2 separate regions of the Homo sapiens genome follow, and region 1 is linked to region 2. The links are contacts of gene promoters, found by promoter capture Hi-C in human tissues and cell types (Jung and others, 2019). All regions are on one chromosome and are shown on one strand. Each heading gives the region's core, a stretch centred on a gene start or on the middle of the fragment in contact. The rest is flanking DNA. Distances are from core to core; before and after follow the strand shown. Region 1 holds the start of DBNDD2 (dysbindin domain containing 2). Region 2 holds the start of WFDC8 (WAP four-disulfide core domain 8).

Region 1 (5,698 bases), core at 818-3,317, 170 kb after region 2:
AGCCAAAAACTGGTGGGAGGGTTGCAGCAGGAAAAAATTAGCAGTAAAGCAGGAGAGGGTTAATTCTTAGAAAGGTACACAATCCCACCATCCTTCCCACCTCTGGTGCCTACTGCAAGTAAAGAGTCTGGTCTTCTCCCGACAGGCTCTGGCTGGGCCTGTGGTCTCATGTGGAGAATAGCCAGCGTGGTCAGTCTGTAGGCAGGGGCCCACTGCTAGCTGCAGGCTCCAGGCTCTGCCCCTCCATCACCCCTTTCCTCCTCTTCATCCGACTGTGCCAAGGGCGTATCTGCTCCATCATCACTTGGATTTGGGCTATGCAGGTTGGTGGAGGAGTCGGAGGAGGAGGAGGAGGAGGTCCTAGATGTGGTCCTGTCTGATGTAGGCACCGGCAGGCTCAGCTCCTCCAAATGGTTGTCCATCCCTGCCCAGAGAGAAAAGCTGGTCAGGCCACAAACAGGGCTTCAGAGAACTCTTAAAGATTATCTGGCCAGGAGTAACTAAAGTCCACAGTGGGGCAGAGACTTGTCCAAAGTGACTTTGCCAATCCAGCAAAGAGCCAGGATTAAGATCACCATCTCCTGACTGCCAGCTCCTTCCACGTCATTACACCATGTCTGGGATCTACAGTCAGGTCAATGAATGGCAAGAGTTCAAGTTCCACCTACATCACTTATTGCTGCTGAGTGGCTTTGAGCAAGTCACTTTCCCTTTCAAGGACTCTGTTCCTCCTCTGCAAAATAAAAGGGATACCTACATCCCCAAAGGGTTTTGGGAATAAAACCTAAGAATGCTTATAAAATGTCTGGCATAGTAAGCCATCAATAAATAGTAGCAGTTTTAATTAAAAGAATATCTATCTTACAAGTTAAGCATATGGGCTTTGGAGTCAGACAGACATGAATTCCAGTTTATCTACCTTCTGGCTACAATGTGACTTAACTTCTCTGAGCCTAATTTCCTGCTTATAAAATAGAGATTATATCACCTACCCTGACAGGACGTTGTAAGGATTGAGATAATATATGTAAAGTACTTTAGTACAGTATTGGAACCTACTAAAGTACTCAATACATATTAATATCATTATAATGACTAAAACTACTTAAGTTGCCAAATATAAAAATTACAATTTTACATTATTTTAATTATAGTGACTAATTATATTAATATAACAAATGTAAAATTAAAGAAGAGATTGACCGTTCCCAGAATTTTGGATTAGAGATGTGTAACCCAGTTCTCCCTCAGGGTCAACTTCCCTAAAATCAGAACAGGCAGCTGTTTCATTGGTAGAAACACCCACTTCCAGCCCTTACTTGTGTACTTCCCCAGCCCAGCCTTGTAGCCTCGTTTCAGAGCCTGACATCCGGCTCTGGCTGACTGGCACTGAAGTCCCCAAAGCAGAGGGGCATACCAGACGACTGGGGGGTTGGTGGAGGATCTTCGCAAGGCAAGAACACATCTGCTGCATCCGGGTCCCCAAGGTCAATAAGTTCTACTTGCTCCAGTGTGTCCACATTCACTTCCATGGATGAGATACTACCTATGGGGGCTGCGGATCAAGAAGTGGGCAAGTCAGGAGGACCCAAGCTGCACACCAGGACAGTGAGAGTTACATGTCAGGTCCCAAGTTAGAAGCATAGAGGGCCAAGAAAACCAGAGGGGAGAGAGTGCCACAAGATTCAGGACCCACAGGACATCCTCCCTACCCTACCCCAGTCCCTCTTCTCAGGACTTGGGACTTACGTCTCTGCGACTCGAGATGCAGATGGGACAGAGGAAAGACAAACTCTGTCTCTGGCTGTAAAATGTCCTCGAAGAATTTTTGCCGCTCCCGAAGGCGGAGCTGCTGGCGCTCCAGGGCGGCCCGAGGATTTGGGTCCATGTCAGCTCCTGCGGGTAGAGGAGCAAAACAAGTACAGCTGCAAAGTCGAAAGAGAAGACAGAGGGGACCTGGGCTTGGGGCGCCCCACTGCAGCCAGCATCCCAACAGTGGGGCCCCTGGCTCCGGCCTGGACACCTCTGCCCTTGGTGACCTCTTTCCCCTTCCCTGAAACCAAGTGTGTCCCACAAACCAAGTCTCATGCAGAGGCGGGGCTTGCCCTAAGCTCCACAAAGGGGATGCCAGTTCCAGGCACCACAAGAGAGATACTCTGTATTCAGGGAACACAGCCAATGCCCAACTCTCCATATCATGCCCTCCTGAGAGGGGTTGGAGGGATTGGTTCAGCACAAATGGAGGAGGTACGTTTTCCCCTTAATTGGCCCCGCTTGCCTCAGAAGGCCAGGGACAGGATAGGATAGAGACAGAGATCTCAGGGTGGAGGGTTCCCTTCCTCCAGTGCTGCAGCCCACCCCTTCCCATCCTTCAAAACCCAGACAAAGGCTAAAGCAACTCCTCCCGCGCCCCTCCTTTTCTCTCCACCCACACAAACACGTACACACGCATGTGCCATCTACCCCAAACCCTTGCTCTGAAGTCACAGGCCTGACTTCCAGACTAGGCTCTGCCCCTAAGGAAATCACCTTTCTGGTCTTAGTCTCCCCATCTGAAAATGGCATAACCAACCTACCTGCCTCAAATACAAGACCCTGCTTGTGAAGGTGAGCTATTTAGGAGACTACCATCTTTCCTTTGAACTCCAACAGCTCTTTATGCGTCCCCCTCCTGGGACACATCTCACTGACTTATCTCCCCATTAGTCAGTGAGGAGCAATTGGAAAGGCGGGTTCTGGGTCCAGTTCAGAGCAGGCCTCCTGACCCCTAGGGCTGAGAAGCTGAGACCCTGCCAGAGCACTGAGGCTATGGGCCAGCCCAGGTCGGTGCATTCATTCCCATTCGCTCATCTCCTTCCCGGCGTTCTGCTCTGAGCCCATCACCAGAGGCAAGGGAGTTTCTAGCTTGAGGATCAGACGTCATCCTCCGCAGACTGCCTTCCCCACCTCATCTGCACCCAGCGTATCCCAGACCCTGGCCAGCTCCACGGGCGCCACAGAGGTGGAGAGGGACCCAACCCCGACTGGCCAAGGCAGGGCCACGGAAGTCTGGGGAGACCGTGCGGCCGCGGGCTGGCGGCGGAGGAGCGAGGCGCTGACGCCGATTCCCGGGAAAGGCTCTTAGAGCTGCCGCCCAGGTCACAACGCTAAAAATACCCAGGGCCCCTGGAGCCTGTGCTCCAGCAGCGAGGAGGGGGAGGGAGAGGCCAAGGTGGGGGAGCTGACGGGGGCCAGGGGCTCTGGGACACCCCCTCTCTTTTCCCCTCCCCCTAACCCCACCGATCTCACGAGACTGAAGGAGCTGTCCCCCGGGGGGCCGCGGAGCCCAGAGCTGGAGAAAGGGAGTTGTTTACGCGACCTATAGGTACTGGAAAGGGGGTGAAGAGATTTGGGGGCAGGAGGCTGCCAGGGGCCGGGCAGGAGCCAGCGAAATGGAGAACTCCCTCTCGGTCTCAGCCCCACCCGCACTGGAGCCAGCAAGAGGGAAAAAATTCCCTAAAAAGGGACACGAGGCGTCGGCGGAGGACGGGGGGAGGGCGCTCCCCCAAGGCCGTTCCCCTCGTGCTCCGGTCCCCTCCGCGGTCCACCGCGGCACCTGCGCCCACCGCCGCCGGAGCCCCTACCTGCAGCGCTGGCGCCCCCTCTGACTCAGTCCGTCCGCTCCAGCGAGGCCGCGGCGGGGGCGTGGGAGCGAGCCGCGCCGGCCGGGGTGGGGCTGCGCCTCCAGGGCTCCCGGGGGACCGACGGGCCCTGGGAGCCGGGAACGAGGAAGAGGCGGGAGGCGGAAGTGGGGGAGGGGCGGTGGCGGGCTCACTCGCTCGCAGCTCGCCCGGCGGTCGGAGGCAGCCCCTGCGAGCGCGGCTACTGGTACTTCCAAGGCGGTCAAAAAGTTACCCGCACCCATCCTTCCTCCCTCCGCCCAGCCGGACTCCTCTGCACCACCCTCGCCACCGACGCCGGTGCGCTAGTCTCCGCTCGCTCGGATGCACTTGCTGCGCCCCCGCCCCGCGCAGACCCGCGGCGGGCGCCCGCGCCGGTTCTGCCCACGCACACTTGATGCTCTGCGCCTTTTGGGCAGCGCCCACGCAACGACTACGCACCCGAACCCTGCCTCCGGCACCCTTGGCCACACTCGCCACACTTACACGCGCGCACTTCTCCAGAGGACGCACGATGGGAAAGAGAGAGTTGGGACCCGCAGGAGGGGGCAGGGCACTGACCCGGTGCCGCCCAGCAGGGCAGGTGCAAGGCGGCGGAGGACCCCTGCCCTGGGACTCGCCCGGCTGCCCCTGATTCCTGGCTCTGGGACTAGACAGAGCCGCCGCCCAACCTACCAAGCACACTGGGCGGGGTGGGCGCCGGGCCGGCCGGGCGGGTCAGAGCTGGAAGGGTGGGCCGCTACGCCGCGCCCCCCGACGCCGGCAAGGAGCCAGCACCTCCACGGTGCTAAGAGGGGCGCTGCGCTGCTGGCCAGGCGGGGGTGGAGGGGCGAGGCGGCAACTGCGAGAGGAGAAACGTTTGCCCTCTTTTCGCAGCGTCTCCTGGCTCAGACCAGTGCTAGAAGTGTCCAGTCTAGCAGCTCCTGGACCAAGACTCCGTGGCCATTCCCTTCCTCCTGCCTTCCATCCACCCCCTTACGGTCAGAGCTCCGAAGGCAGCGTGGTGACGGGTGCGGGGAGGGGAGTGGGGGGATCTCTCTGAGATACTTCTGCCTTGGGGTCACTGGATCATTCATTCGACAAACATCCGCGAGCAAGTCAGGAACTAGGAGTCATCCTTGCCACCTCCCTCTCCCTCGCTGCCTATATTAAAATACACCTCCATTTCCTGTCGATTCTCTTTCCTAAATATCTTTCCAGTCCACCATTCCTTCCGTTTGCCCCACCACCTCCCGCCTGGGCTCCTAATGCAGTAACCTTCTATCTGGTTTTCTTTTCTTTTTTTTTTTTTTTTTGAGACGGAGTCTCGCTCTGTTGCCCAGGCCGGACTGCGGACTGCAATGGCGCAATCTCGGCTCACTGCAAGCTCCGCTTCCTGGGTTCACGCCATTCTCCTGCCTCAGCCTCCCGAGTAGCTGGGACTACAGGCGCCCGCCACCGCACCCGGCTAATTTTTTGTATTTTTAGTAGAGACGGGGTTTCACCTTGTTAGCCAGGATGGTCTCGATCTCCTGACCTCGTGATCCACCCGCCTCGGCCTCCCAAAGTGCTGGGATTACAGGCGTGAGCCACCGCGCCCGGCCCTATCTGGTTTTCTTGTACTCATTCTGGCCCGGCTACACTCCATTCCCTGCATTACAAGTCAGCTGTCATTTCAGAACACAAGTCTGGTGTGCCCCCCTCGACCCCCCCGCCACGCGGCGTTGCCTAAATTCCTCCACTGTTAGAATAAAATCTGGACGCTGATATCTGAGCTAAGTCTTGAAGACATGAGTTCAACAAGCAGAAAAGAGGGAGAAGGGCATGTGCAGAGGGAGGGAAGTGTGAACAAATCATTGACACATTCAGGTTTCCCTGTCAGGGGACCAGCACTCTGTACACTAAAGCACTGCCTCTTAACATTATTGGGATCTCAAAACAACCCTGTGAGATAAATACAGCATGCAATTTTCCCACTAGTTTACAAGCATGGAAACTAGTTTGTGGGAGGCAACAAATGCAATGGTTAAGAGCACAGGCAATACAGTCAGACCCTCTTG
Region 2 (5,066 bases), core at 728-3,227:
AATTGGCACATGTGCATGGTCTGATAAATCTAAAGCTATGAATTTAATTCAAAATTGCATGAGTTGTTAGGGAAAAATTGAGGACAAGTTGATTCGGAAGAATTCTCCTTTAAACACAGGAATCCAAGAAATTCCACAAAGTATTGTTACATACATAAACTTCCATTAAATATGTACTCTCACAATAAAAAAAATCACACAGATCTTAAGAAAACAAGATGAAAAAAATCAAGAAAAACAACCAACAGCAGAGGTCCACAAAGACTTCAGATATTGGAGTTACTGTATTGTATTGTAGCGAGTTATTGTATTGTAGGAAAGGAACATAGAAAAAGGATTCCTGATTCTGTCTTTGGGGTAGGAAGGGCACGTGATAAAAACTTTCATTCAAAAGGTAAAAGACAAGCCAATAAGGGTTTTAGAAGATTACCCTTGATCCTGGAAGATGTTCATAATACATATAACTGAGGAAAGACATGACTCCAGTAGAAATCAGCAAGAAAAAGTCAGAAAACCCCAGAGAACAATGAGCAAAACATTTGAAAAGAAAATCAAAGAGAGGATAGCCAAGTGGTTAATAAAGATCTAAAAAGGTGCTCAACCTCATTAGTAGTCAAGAAATTTAAATTAAGTCCACAGTGATGTATTTCCATACTCGTAGCAGGATGGTAAAAATGAAAAGATTGTGACAGTTCTACATACAGCATGGTTATGGAACAATAGGAACTCTCAACTACCAATGGCAAGGCTGTGAATTGGTACAAACTCTTTGGGAAATAATTTGGTATCAGCTTGAGAAGCTGAAGATATGCATACCCTGTAACCCATCATTCCCTATGCTGAATGTATAACCTACAAGAACACCTGCCCACGTGCTCCAGCAAATGCACACAGAGTGTTCATAGCAGCTTTATTCTTTTTTTTACATGAGTAAATTGTTTAAAATTTTTTTGACATTTAAAAACATTTATTAATTCATTTAACGTAATAAACTTATTACATGTTGATATAAATAACATTTTTATTTAGAAAATCCTAGTTTTTTATTATACTTTAAGTTCTGGGATACACGTGCAGAACGTTATTACATACATGCTATGTATACACACAGCAGCTTTATTCTTAACAGCTGCAAACTATAAACAACTCAGTAGAGATGTGTGTAGTCATACAATAGATGGCATGGCAATGAAAATTGACAAAATACAGCTACACAAAACAATGTGGATGGAATTCATTAATATAATGTTGAACACAAAAAGCCAGGCACAAAAGAATACATTCCAAGTGACTCCATTGATATAGAACAGAAGCAGACAAAAACAAAAACATATTTAGGGGAATACATATGATCTTGAAAATATGAAAAAGAAAGTCACTACCATTAGCTGCCTTTGAGAGCATAGGAAGGGGTTGTGACTGGAAAAGAATGAAAAAGGAGCAGAAAGTGTTGGAAATTTTTTACTTGATTTCAGTGATAGTTTAATGAGTGGTCACTTCGTAATAGTTCGTTAGACTGAACATTAATGTTTCATGCATATTTTTATTTTTGTGGTGTTTTTCACAATACATATTTTTACAAAAAGGAAAAGTAGCTCTTCCTTGTTTTGTCTCCTTTTCTTTACTAACTGAACTAGTCAGTCCTAAAGCCATTAGATAGGCACATTTAGCAAGGTAGGCGTTTGCCCCAAGGGGAAGGGAGCCACGGCTGGCTCCGTGTGGGCATCAGAGCTGGAACAGGTCAAGGAGGGTGTCTCTGTAGGAGGGCTGCTGGCCTGGTGTGCTGGAGCCAGGGGTAGATGAGAATGCCCAGTGAAGAGGCAAGAAGCAGCATAGCATGGAGACCAGCCTGCCCATGTTGAGAAAGGCATCCCCCTGGGGCTAGAGGGGCAGACTGGCATAGAATGAGAGCCTGAGTGGGGTGAGCAGAGTGTCCAGGCAGGGGAGCAGATGAGGGAGGAGCCTTAGAGCTGGAGCAAAGTGAGGAAGCTGTCTCCATAGGGAAGAGGCCTGATGTGGACTGTCCGAACTGAAGGAGGGTGAGGAGGGTGTCTATGGGGGTGGGTAGCCAGACATGGAGGGTCTGAGCCCAAGGAGATGAGGAGGATACATAGAAGTTAGAGTGGTCGGCTGTGGGGAGTTGGGCCAAGCATAGTGAGGAGGGGTTCCACAGAACAGAGCTGTCTTGTGTCAGGAATCAGAGCCTAAGCAGGGTGAAGAGGGCATCAATGCATCCAGCGATTCTCCTGCCTTAGCCTCCCTAGTAGCTGGGACTACAGGTGTGCGCCACCACGCTCGGCTAAGTTTTGCATTTTTAGTAGAGACGGGGTTTCACCATGTTGGCCAGGCTGGTCTCGAATGCAACCTGATATGGCTGTTGGAGCCCAAGTAGGGTAAGTTGGGCATCTTTGAGTGGCCCAGTGTGGAGGGGCAGAGCCTGAGCAAGGTAAAGTTTGATATTTTAAATTAAACAAGCATATAATATGTATCTAAACATTTTCAAAAAATTAAAACAGGAGTAGTAGTGATGGGTTATATTATTATTCACAACTATTCATTCCATCTTTCCTTTAAGAGGACACTCCTGTCCATTACCTTGCAATTTTAGAACGGCCCGTGGAAGGAAGACACATTTCTGTCTCATTGACTTTGGGTTTGCTGTCAGCTGTGCTTTGCCTATTGGAGTATGAGCAGATGTAGCATATGCATAGTGAGTTTTGCACTGTGAGTTTCTGCCAGCTCCTTTGTGCTTTCTCTCTGCCAGGAGAAGGGGCCTAATCCACATAGAGGCTGCTTCTTTTGTCTTGGTCCCACAGCCTCAAGTAGAGCCCCCACTTGGAACAAAGCAGTAGACAATTTGCCTAGGAAGTCTTTTGTTGTGGCAAGCCATGGAGAGCTCAAAGTTCTTTGTACACCAAAGTAATAAAAATACAGTTGATTCCCATTACTTGGGGGTAGTTATGTTCTGTAAAGTCACTGTGAACACCGGATTAGCAAATACTGAGCCATTGCTCCTAGGGAAAATGCAAGCCTCTGACCACACATTTTCATCATTTGATCAATACATAACCTTGTTTTTATATGTGCTTCTGTCTGAAGACACATGACAGAGATGGTAATTAGAAGGTGCACACAGAAGACTTCTGGGAAGCTGGCTACTTTCTATTTTTTAATCTGTGTGGTTAATTATTAAATAAAACTCTACATACTTTATTTATTTATTTATTTTTATTTTTATTTTTTTTGTTTTGTTTGAGAGGGAATCTCTCTCTGTCCCCCAGGCTGGAGCATAGTGGTGTGATCTCGGCTCTCTGCAACCTCCACCTTCTGGGTTCAAGGGATCCTCCTGCCTTAGCCTCCTGAGTAGCTGGGACTACAGGTGTGCACCACCACTCCAGGCTAATTTTTGTATTTTTAGTAGAGACAGGGTTTCACCGTGTTGGCCAGGCTAGTCTTGAACTCCTGACCACAGGTGATCTGCCTGCCTCAGCCTCCCAAAGTGCTGGGATTACAGGCATGAGCCACCGTGCTGGCCCTGTCTTTATTTTTTAAACATGTATATAGGCCAGGCGCGGTGGCTCATGCCTGTAATCCCAGCACTTTGGGAGGCTGAGGCAGGCGGATCACTAGGTCAGGAGATTGAGACCATCCTGGCCAACACAGTGAAACCTCATCTCTACTAAAAATACAAAAAATTAGCAGGACGTGGTGGTGGGTGCCTGTAATCCCAGCTACTCGGGAGTCTGAGGCAGGAGAATCACTTGAACCCAGAAGGCGGAGGTTGCAGCGAGCCGAGATCGCACTACTGTACTCTAGCCTGGCGACAGAGTGAGACTCCATCTCAAAAAAAAAAAAAGACACCTTATGTAATATATATTATTGTTTCATTAACATTGAATTGTGGCTGAAAGCCCTGTAACTCATGCCTGAACCAAGCTTATCTGACACAAGTAATTTCTTTGTAAGGCACATTGCAGGCCTCTTGCTCTTAGGACACTTGACAGCACTTTAGTAATTCTTGGCAGCCATTTTAAACAGCAAACTCACCAACAAAAAGCACAAAAATGTGAAAAATGTGACACTAAGTAGACTGCAAAAAGGAAGCTTGTTTATAGTAGTAGAAGAGCTTAAACAAGCAGAGCGTTGCCTTGTTTGACTTCAGCTGGGAATGTGTACGTTGGGGGACTCAAATTTTTTGCCATTCTGCACATATCCCTGAATGACCACAAAAGCATCATGAGTATTGATTTTTGGGTAATAAATAAATTTCAGCAAGTAGGCAAATTGGCAAGTACAGAATCTGAATAATGAGGACTGAGAGTAGATAACTTGTAATAAAATTGTAGAAATGAATCCAAATATGTCATTAGTGCCCATAAATGTCAATTAATAGGTAATAATTTCTGGACTGGATTTTTACAATGTAGATTTACACGATTTGAAGGATAAACTTAAAACATAAGTAGAATGGTTGAACGCAAAAGAATGGAAAAAAGACTAGGCAAATGCAAACAAAGAAGAGAGAGTATAGTTTGATTAATATTAGGCAATAGAAAACTCTAAGGCTGGGCACATTGGCTCACGCCTGTAATCCCAACACTTTGGGAGGCCGAGGCAGGCAGATTGCTTGAGGCCAGGAGTTCAAGACCAGCCTAGGCAACATGGAAAGACCCCGTCTCTACTAAAATTACAAAAATTACAGGTGTGGTGGCACATGCCTATAATCCCAGCTCCTTGGGAGGCCGAGGCACAAGAATCATTTGAACCCAGGAGAGGGAGGTTGGAGTGAGCCAAGATCGTGCCACTGCGCTCCGCCCTGGGAGAAAGACAGTGAGAGACTGTCTGAAAAAAAAAAAGAAAACTCTAAGACGAAGTTTTATCTTTAAGGATAAAGGATGGCTTGCTAGATAATGGTAAAAGACTCAGTTCACCAGGAATACATTTGTATTTACCTAAACCAATCAAATCAGGATATATTAAAGCAAACATTGACATCATTATAGGCATAAATTGAGAAATCTATGGCTGTATTGAGGGCCCTTGACACACCTTTCTCAATCATTGAC

The links. Contacts are between HindIII fragments. The study calls those that stand out against the background at their distance.
Region 1: a contact is called between the fragment with the promoter of DBNDD2 here and the fragment with the promoter of WFDC8 in region 2, in 2 of the 25 tissues and cell types used here (mesendoderm cells and neural progenitor cells).

What each region holds. Positions count from the first base shown.
Region 1 is chr20:45,404,658-45,410,355 of GRCh38, reverse strand. DBNDD2 (dysbindin domain containing 2) reads right to left here and starts at 2,067. Exons shown (of 3, transcript NM_001048225.4): 1 at 1,750-2,067; 2 at 1,418-1,555; 3 at 1-424. The coding sequence starts at 1,888. The coding sequence ends at 216. SYS1-DBNDD2 (SYS1-DBNDD2 readthrough (NMD candidate)) reads right to left here. Exons shown (of 6, transcript NR_003189.2): 4 at 1,750-1,896; 5 at 1,418-1,555; 6 at 1-424. It overlaps LOC107985404 (a long non-coding RNA gene), which reads left to right and starts at 2,467. Exons shown (of 5, transcript XR_007067608.1): 1 at 2,467-2,607; 2 at 3,924-4,242; 3 at 4,536-4,639. RefSeq lists an enhancer at 2,930-3,479. The HindIII fragment of the contact is 23,713 bases long and covers 1-5,698 here.
Region 2 is chr20:45,576,195-45,581,260 of GRCh38, reverse strand. It overlaps WFDC8 (WAP four-disulfide core domain 8), which reads left to right and starts at 1,977. Exons shown (of 6, transcript NM_130896.3): 1 at 1,977-2,039. The coding sequence starts at 2,014. RefSeq lists an enhancer at 2,227-3,162. The HindIII fragment of the contact is 18,093 bases long and covers 1-5,066 here.